2 separate regions of the Homo sapiens genome follow, and region 1 is linked to region 2. The links are contacts of gene promoters, found by promoter capture Hi-C in blood cells and fetal thymus (Javierre and others, 2016). All regions are on one chromosome and are shown on one strand. The core of a region is centred on a gene start or on the middle of the fragment in contact, and the rest is flanking DNA. Distances in the headings are between cores, read along the strand shown.

Region 1 (3,840 bases), core at 887-3,386, 340 kb before region 2:
TTTCCTGACCATGTAGGAAGAGTTCTCCTGAGGCTGTCAACATCCACACTAGGCAGGAATATGAGGTGTAAACTCACAAACACTTGGCTCCTAGAGACCTGCCCCTTAAATAAGAGGCAAAAGAGGAATAGCAGTTTCATACAACTGGGAGTCTGAAGCTTTAAATAAAGTTACTGGATGGAGTGTTATCCCTATTTTTGGGGATAAATAGACAAACAAGGATAAGATATGCCTAAATAAAAGGCCAGAAAGTAGTATGGGCTGAGAATTTTTTACTGACCTTTTGGTTTCTTTGTGAATCTCCACCTAATGAAGGCAATAGAAAGCCCCTTGAGAAAATAGAATCCAAGACACACTTAAAATCTTTTTCCTATAATCCCTTTCTTCCTATACTAGAGCACCAGGGCTTCTGAAACTGGATTCCCTATTGGAGTATGTTTATGACATGTCAAGTAATAAGTTACTGTGTGGGGAGGGAAAGTGGCCTCAGGATTAGATAGCCCAGGAGAAATAGATGTTCTCTCCTGGATGTGTTAATTTATCCCAGATTCTAGCAAAACTGCTTATTAAAGATGGTGAGCATACACAGTTTAATTAGAGATGCTGGCAATTCTACAGTCATCATGACAGTGTTTTGAGGGCATAATCTGAGATACTCCTGGATCCTTTCAAATTTGGCTAAATCAGAAAACACATAATGGGCAAGAGCTATGAACTAGCCTCTGTGCTAGGTCCTGGAGAAATAAAGATTAAAAAAGCTTTCTTGTCTGGCTTCAGGAAGCTACAAGCCTAGTGGTAAAAACAAGCATTTGACAGTATGGTTTCAGTTCTTTATGGTAAGTGGTGTTTACACACAATTAAAGAAGAACTCAGAAAAAGAAAGAAAAGGAAAGGGGAAGAGAGAGAGACTGTTGGAGATGTTAGGGAAGTCTTAAGAGGAGGGGACCTGTGATGCAAACTGTTTTTAAAACACAAGAGATTGTCTGAATGATAAGAAAGAATTCCAAAGAGAAGAAACAATGTAGCTACAGGTATGAAAGCAAAAGGACTGATCAGGTAACGAAAAATGATTCAGTTGTGCTGACTCCAGGACATGGAAGAGGTGGGGATTGAAGGAGATAAAACCAGAAGGGTAGGTTGGGGTCATATTCTGAAGGCCTCATATGCCAAATTAAGGAATTTCAGCTTTAACTTTTTTTTAAAAAAAACAGAGTCTTGCTCTGTTGCCCAGGCCGGAGTGCAGTGGCACAATCTCAGCTCTCTGCAACCTCCGCCTCCTGGGTTCAAGTGATTCTCCTGTCTCAGCCTCCTGAGTAGCTGGGATTACAGGCATGCGTCACCACATCCGGCTAATTTTTGTATTTTTAGTAGAGACAGGGTTTCTCCATGTTGCCCAGGCTGATCTCAAACTCCTGACCTCAGGTGATCCACCAACCTTGGCCTCCCAAAGTGCTGGGATTACAGGCGTGAACCACTGCACCCGGACAGTTTTTACTTTTAAATATGGGAACTACCCAGGACTTAGGAGAACTAGGATTCAGTTTGTGAAGCATCTATATGAATTCTTAACATCTTTATCATACTTAGCTCCCCTGAGATATCTAAAAAGCCATATAGGGGGAGGGAGACTTTGGACTGCAAGCCAAAAAGCTCATGAGTAAAAAGAAAATGTGACTAAGGTATTGGGGAGAATACACAGAAATAATTATGTACTTAAGATGAAGCTGAATCAGACTGTCATAGAGAACATGGAGTGGAGGCTGTCCCAGGACTGTCATGTAGATTTGGGGTTTGAGATACAGATGAGCACCAAGGGAAGAATAAGGATTTGCTGTCAAATCAGTGACTAGGCTGGGCCTCAGACCTGGTGGCAGTATGGTCTCAGGGCACACTTTCTACTAGGCTGAAAGTGTGGACTCTTTAATCAGAAAAGCCTTTGAACGAACAAACAAACAAAACAGCCGAGATCCAAAGGACACATGTATCTGCATTCCAGACCATAATAGAACTACTAGGGCATTTTTCAGGATTAACAAGGTCAATGGCAAAAATAAAACCATATCTAAAGTTCTCTAAGAACATCATAAGGTGGCTAAAAGTAACTAAGACAAGTTGTTAACTGACAAGAAAAAAAACTGAAAAAAGCAAAACATTGCTGGTAAAGATTTTGACAGGCATTCAGTAAACATTCATGAAATGTTTACCAGTTATTCAATAAACATTCATAAAGTATTTACTATGTGCCAGATACTATGCTAGACATAAAAAAATCTTGAAATAAGCCCTGTACTATCCCTTAAATAGTTTCCAGTCTTGAAAGGGAGATGGGTTTATGCAGAACTCACCGTAATTCAATGTGATGGAGAAATGAACAAAGTATGCTTAATATTTAATGACAAAAATGTAAGCCTCGGGATATTTTTTCCTGATCTATATAAAGCTAAATCTCATCAAGCTAAGAATGGACTTTGCACGTTGAAGTTCAGTGAAATAAATGCCTGTTACCTGGACAGTAAGGTTGCCTTGATCTGTGTGTAGTGCTATCTCCTGGGGCCAAAGGCTATGTAGCTCCTGCTGGGCATCACTCAGAACATTTCATCACCATGGAATTTTAGAACATTTATCACTCAGGTTTTTCAGAAATCTTGTTTGAACAGAATAGCTTAACAGTCAGACATTATGGAATCAAATGTTTTCAACAATCCCTTTTTTTGGAATTATTTTAGTCATCATTCATGCTCTGTATCACTGCTTTCACACTGTAGCCCCTTGCCACAAGACAATTTCCCAACCATTATCTCACTAGGTCCTCAGAACAATCTCAAGGGAGACAAGGATAAGGCTCTCATTATACAGATAATAAGATTGAGATAGAAAAAGGAGTGAAGGCAGAACTTGAACTTGCACCAGTTGGCTGGCATTTTCTGTTTTCCTAGAATAAATCCTCACCCAAGGGCGACTCACAATGGAGATAGTGATGTACTAGAGAAATCAAACTAGGCAAAATTTACATTCTCCGGGGCCTCAAACATTCCAAATAAATCAAAACCTCATCCCCAAGGCTTTTCCAAGAGAGGTCCTATATAAAAGGGCCACCTGGTACCCTTACTCTAGCCAGTGGGGACTCATGAGGAAGAGCATCTCCAGCACAGCACAAGCTGTAAAGTCTTATTCATGCAGAACCAGCTGAGAATTTAGGGAACATGAGTATCCATTTTCTCCAATATTAAAACAAATCATAGAAAAGCATTTAGAGCTCCACAAGCAAACCTAACCCTTACTTAAACAGATTCAAGAATTCAGTAGACACTGTGTTGCGTTAGATCTGGAGCCAGATGCTGGGAATAAGTGGTCAATTATGCCAAGTGTCTGGCCTGTGGACAGACAGACTGATATATATATATATAAATAATATATATTAACGTAGCATATATATTAACATAACATATATATATATATATATATATATATATTTGGTAGACTAATGAATGTTAAACTAGAGCACAGAAGGAAGAAAGCTTTAGTTCCAATTGATGTTTTTAAATTATAAATAAAGAATAATAAACACAGGTTCTTGGCCAGTCAACCAGCTCACCTCTCTTCAAGCACACACTAAACACCATTAGCAATAAAGGGACAGATCATGCAATAGAGGGATTTGAGATCTTTATGGTGGTGCAGGACTCTTTTATGTAAGGAAACTTCCAGCAACTCAAACTTTAAACTCTTATTTCTGTGGATGCCATCGAAGACTTCAGAAAGCATGAGTACCTCACTCACTCACTGCCTAGTAGAACTGAGGCTAGGATATGTTAAATGCCTTTGCAATATTTCTGTTGG
Region 2 (3,601 bases), core at 803-3,302:
GAAGGGCAGAGCTTCCTAAAAAGGGAGCCAACTGGCCTCTCCACATGGAGGCCCTAATGGTTTGATGGATGCACTGCTAGCCCTGCAGAAACCCACAAGAGGGAGAGAATCATTGGTAGGGGACTCAGGGAAGAGGAAGATCTCGGTCTCCCAAAAAAATTTTCTCTTTCTGGAGAATATGGGCTTCGAGCTGGATATCAAGGAGGCAAAGAAGGAGCACATAGGAGGGTAGGGAGTGAAGTGGAAACTTCCCTGGTGAGTAGGGGAAGCAAAGAAAGGAGAACAAGGCAAAGGGACTAAGAAAAGATTAACTTACAAGAACAAATGCTAGAGTCTTGTCTCCAGAGGTAGTGCAACCAGAAATCCTGAAGAGCAGTTGAATTGAGAAGAGAAGTGGGAGGTCAGGGGGTTGGGGGAAGAGGTGACTGGTGGCTGAGAGGCCATGGCTGGGAAAGAGAGAAAGGAATAAACTGGGGAGGGCTGGTAACCTTGATAGGAATTTATGTAGGAAATGAGAGTGCAAACAGGAAGGGCTTAATGAGGGCTGTGATTGTCTGGAAGGAGAAAAAGGGGAGATTTGGCACCTCCTGGAACCTGGGGAAAGTAATTGTCTGGGTAAATGGTAAGTGTATTTCCCACAGGGTCAGAGCAGGCTTTGATCTTTAGGAGAAGACAAATTGCTTTCCATCTTGCTGAAGCCAAAGGCTTAAATGGTCAGACGTGTGTCATAGGTGGGTGCAAAGGGAAGGAAATATAATACATCCTCATGGCCAAGTGCCCTGGGCTTGGATCACTGTGTCCTTGGCCAAGTTAACCAACTTCTTTAAGCTTCCAATGATTCATGTACAAAAAAAGATACAAAAATACCTTTCACATGTGGTTCTTCCAGAAAGCGCTTGGCACAGGGCCTGGTACATAAACAAATTCAATAAGGGTTAACTATTTTCATAATTACAGTTAGTCTGCATCGCTAGAAGCACATTATTCAAATGAGGATATGGACTGGTCAGATGACAGTGGAAACGGTGTTCAGATCTAGGGGCCCCCACCTAGTAAGAACAACACTAATCAACTCTAGCCTGCCCAGGGGACAGTGACCCAGAGAACTAGGAAACCTTGAAAAATGAAGAAATATGAAATACTAATAAAAATTAAGAAAACCCACAAGCGTTTAACCCAGATAATATTTGGGGACATGAGGGGGTTATGTGAAGAGAAAACAATGTTCCATTTAACTTTAGGAAATGGCGATATTATTAAAGATTTTGGAGGCATTAGTCATCATCCTTTGGTCAAGTTTATTAACCTCTCCAGTGCCTCTGTTTTTTCATCCATAAAATGGGATTCACTAGATCACCTATCTTATAAGATTACTGTGGCAATTAAATGAGTCAGTATGTGCTAAGTGCTTAGAAGACTATCTAGCACATAATAAATGCTCAATAAGTCCTGAGGAGCAACTGGATTGACAGGAGAAGTTGGTGCTGGTTATTATTATTACTATAATTATTACCCTGGGTAAGTTTTTAATAGTTCCAGCAATGAAAAAATGAGAATAGCCTCCTTGCAGCAGTAATTCCCTCTTACTGGAACAGTTCAAAAAGTCGCTGATAACGACCAGTCAATCATTAGAGAGGAGACTCCTCGTCCTGGGAGAAAGCCGATTTGTCATCTCTTAAACCCCAGGGCATCCAGCGTGAAGGAGGTAGAACTAGGCCGGCCCGCGAGGAGGCAGGGGCAGGCGCCAGTGACGCAATGACTGCAACATGCCGCCAGGGTGCAGCAGAGCCCGACCCCGGGTTGTTCCATCCGCAGCAAACAATTCCTAACTCGCTCCAGGTCTTCCTTCTTAGCTGAGTGGGTTGAACCCCGTGGAAGTAACCCCCCGCCCATTATGATGATCCAGCCAATCACCGCGTGATCTGCTCGGACGGGGCGGGATCGCGGCGCTTCCCTCGGTCGCTCAGAGACTGGGTTCCGCGTTCCAGCCCCGCCCCAGGTTCTGGGCCAATCCCCGCGGCTGGGCAGAGCGACCCGAGGGCGGCGCCCTGCAGACCACGTGGCCCGGGAGGCGCCGAGGCCAGGTAGGTGGTGAGTTACTTGGCTCGGAGCGGGCGAGGGGACGCGTGGGCGGAGCGGGGCTGGCCAGCCTCGGCCCCCATGACCCGCTGTCCTGTGCCCTTTCCCAGCGATGGGCGTGCAGCCCCCCAACTTCTCCTGGGTGCTTCCGGGCCGGCTGGCGGGACTGGCGCTGCCGCGGCTCCCCGCCCACTACCAGTTCCTGTTGGACCTGGGCGTGCGGCACCTGGTGTCCCTGACGGAGCGCGGGCCCCCTCACAGCGACAGCTGCCCCGGCCTCACCCTGCACCGCCTGCGCATCCCCGACTTCTGCCCGCCGGCCCCCGACCAGATCGACCGCTTCGTGCAGATCGTGGACGAGGCCAACGCACGGGGAGAGGTCAGCGGGCGGGGTCAGCGCAGGGAGGGAGGGGCCTGGAAGGTCAGCGGGGGACACGGGCGGAGCTGGGGAGACCGGGCCTGGGATAACTTAACTGGGCTCGGGGAGGCAGACAGTAGGGCCGGGAGACTGGGAAGCCAGTGCGGGGGAGGGAAGCGCTAAACGGAAGGAACTAAAGAGAGGGCGAAGCAGTGCGAACTGGGCTTGAGGAGAGGCAGTGAAAACCAGCTAATACTGTGAGTTGTGAAGGAGAAGGGTGTGGACAGACACCTGGGAGAGGTGGGGGTTGAAGTCAGGTGGAGGCTGTTTACCATTTTCTAGAGTAAAGCTGTCCAAATATAATGGAACCTAAGTGGCTCCATGTAATGTTAATTTTTCTAGCAACGGCATTCTTAAAAAGCAGGGAAGCAGATAAAATTAACTTTGGTGATCTTAATGAGATATTTTCATTCTTTTTTCTACTACCTCTTCATACCCTGTTGCGTTTTTCACACTACATCTCAGTTTGGACTAGCCACATTTCGAGTACAGTAGCCACAGTAGCCGTGGCTACTGTCTTCTGTATTGAACACCACAGGTGGAGGGCTGTGTAGAGGTGGACAGCTCTTGAACCAGCCAGTGCAGAGGCCTCCTAGCCACCTAGTGCAGGGACAGCCCTCCCTGACTTTGCTGCAGAGCCCTGGACCTGGCACAGAAGAAGGAGCTGTGGGGAGAACCAAGTGAGGGGCAGGAAACAGTTGTGGGTGGGGGAGTTGAGTGGCACCCATCGAGCCCCCTCTTCGTAGGCTGTGGGAGTGCACTGTGCTCTGGGCTTTGGCCGCACTGGCACCATGCTGGCCTGTTACCTGGTGAAGGAGCGGGGCTTGGCTGCAGGAGATGCCATTGCTGAAATCCGACGACTACGACCCGGCTCCATCGAGACCTATGAGCAGGAGAAAGCAGTCTTCCAGTTCTACCAGCGAACGAAATAAGGGGCCTTAGTACCCTTCTACCAGGCCCTCACTCCCCTTCCCCATGTTGTCGATGGGGCCAGAGATGAAGGGAAGTGGACTAAAGTATTAAACCCTCTAGCTCCCATTGGCTGAAGACACTGAAGTAGCCCACCCCTGCAGGCAGGTCCTGATTGAAGGGGAGGCTTGTACT

Evidence for each region. Contacts are between HindIII fragments. The CHiCAGO score rates a contact against its expected background, and 5 or more counts as called.
Region 1: a fragment that was not itself captured here is called in contact with the fragment with the promoter of DUSP23 in region 2 in 4 of 17 cell types (M2 macrophages, endothelial precursors, M1 macrophages and 1 more); the score reaches 6.7 in M2 macrophages.

The regions. Positions count from the first base shown.
Region 1 is chr1:159,440,714-159,444,553 of GRCh38, forward strand. OR10J1 (olfactory receptor family 10 subfamily J member 1) reads left to right here. Exons shown (of 1, transcript NM_012351.3): 1 at 1-254. The coding sequence ends at 8. Among named protein-coding and RNA genes, the nearest start is that of OR10J1, 2.9 kb to the left of the region's middle. The HindIII fragment of the contact is 2,760 bases long and covers 757-3,516 here.
Region 2 is chr1:159,778,910-159,782,510 of GRCh38, forward strand. DUSP23 (dual specificity phosphatase 23) reads left to right here and starts at 2,053. Exons shown (of 2, transcript NM_001319658.2): 1 at 2,053-2,458; 2 at 3,244-3,601. The coding sequence starts at 2,192. The coding sequence ends at 3,429. LOC101928264 (a long non-coding RNA gene) reads right to left here and starts at 472. Exons shown (of 3, transcript XR_922193.3): 1 at 317-472. RefSeq lists a silencer at 1,988-2,377 and an enhancer at 2,369-2,945. The HindIII fragment of the contact is 4,062 bases long and covers 827-3,601 here.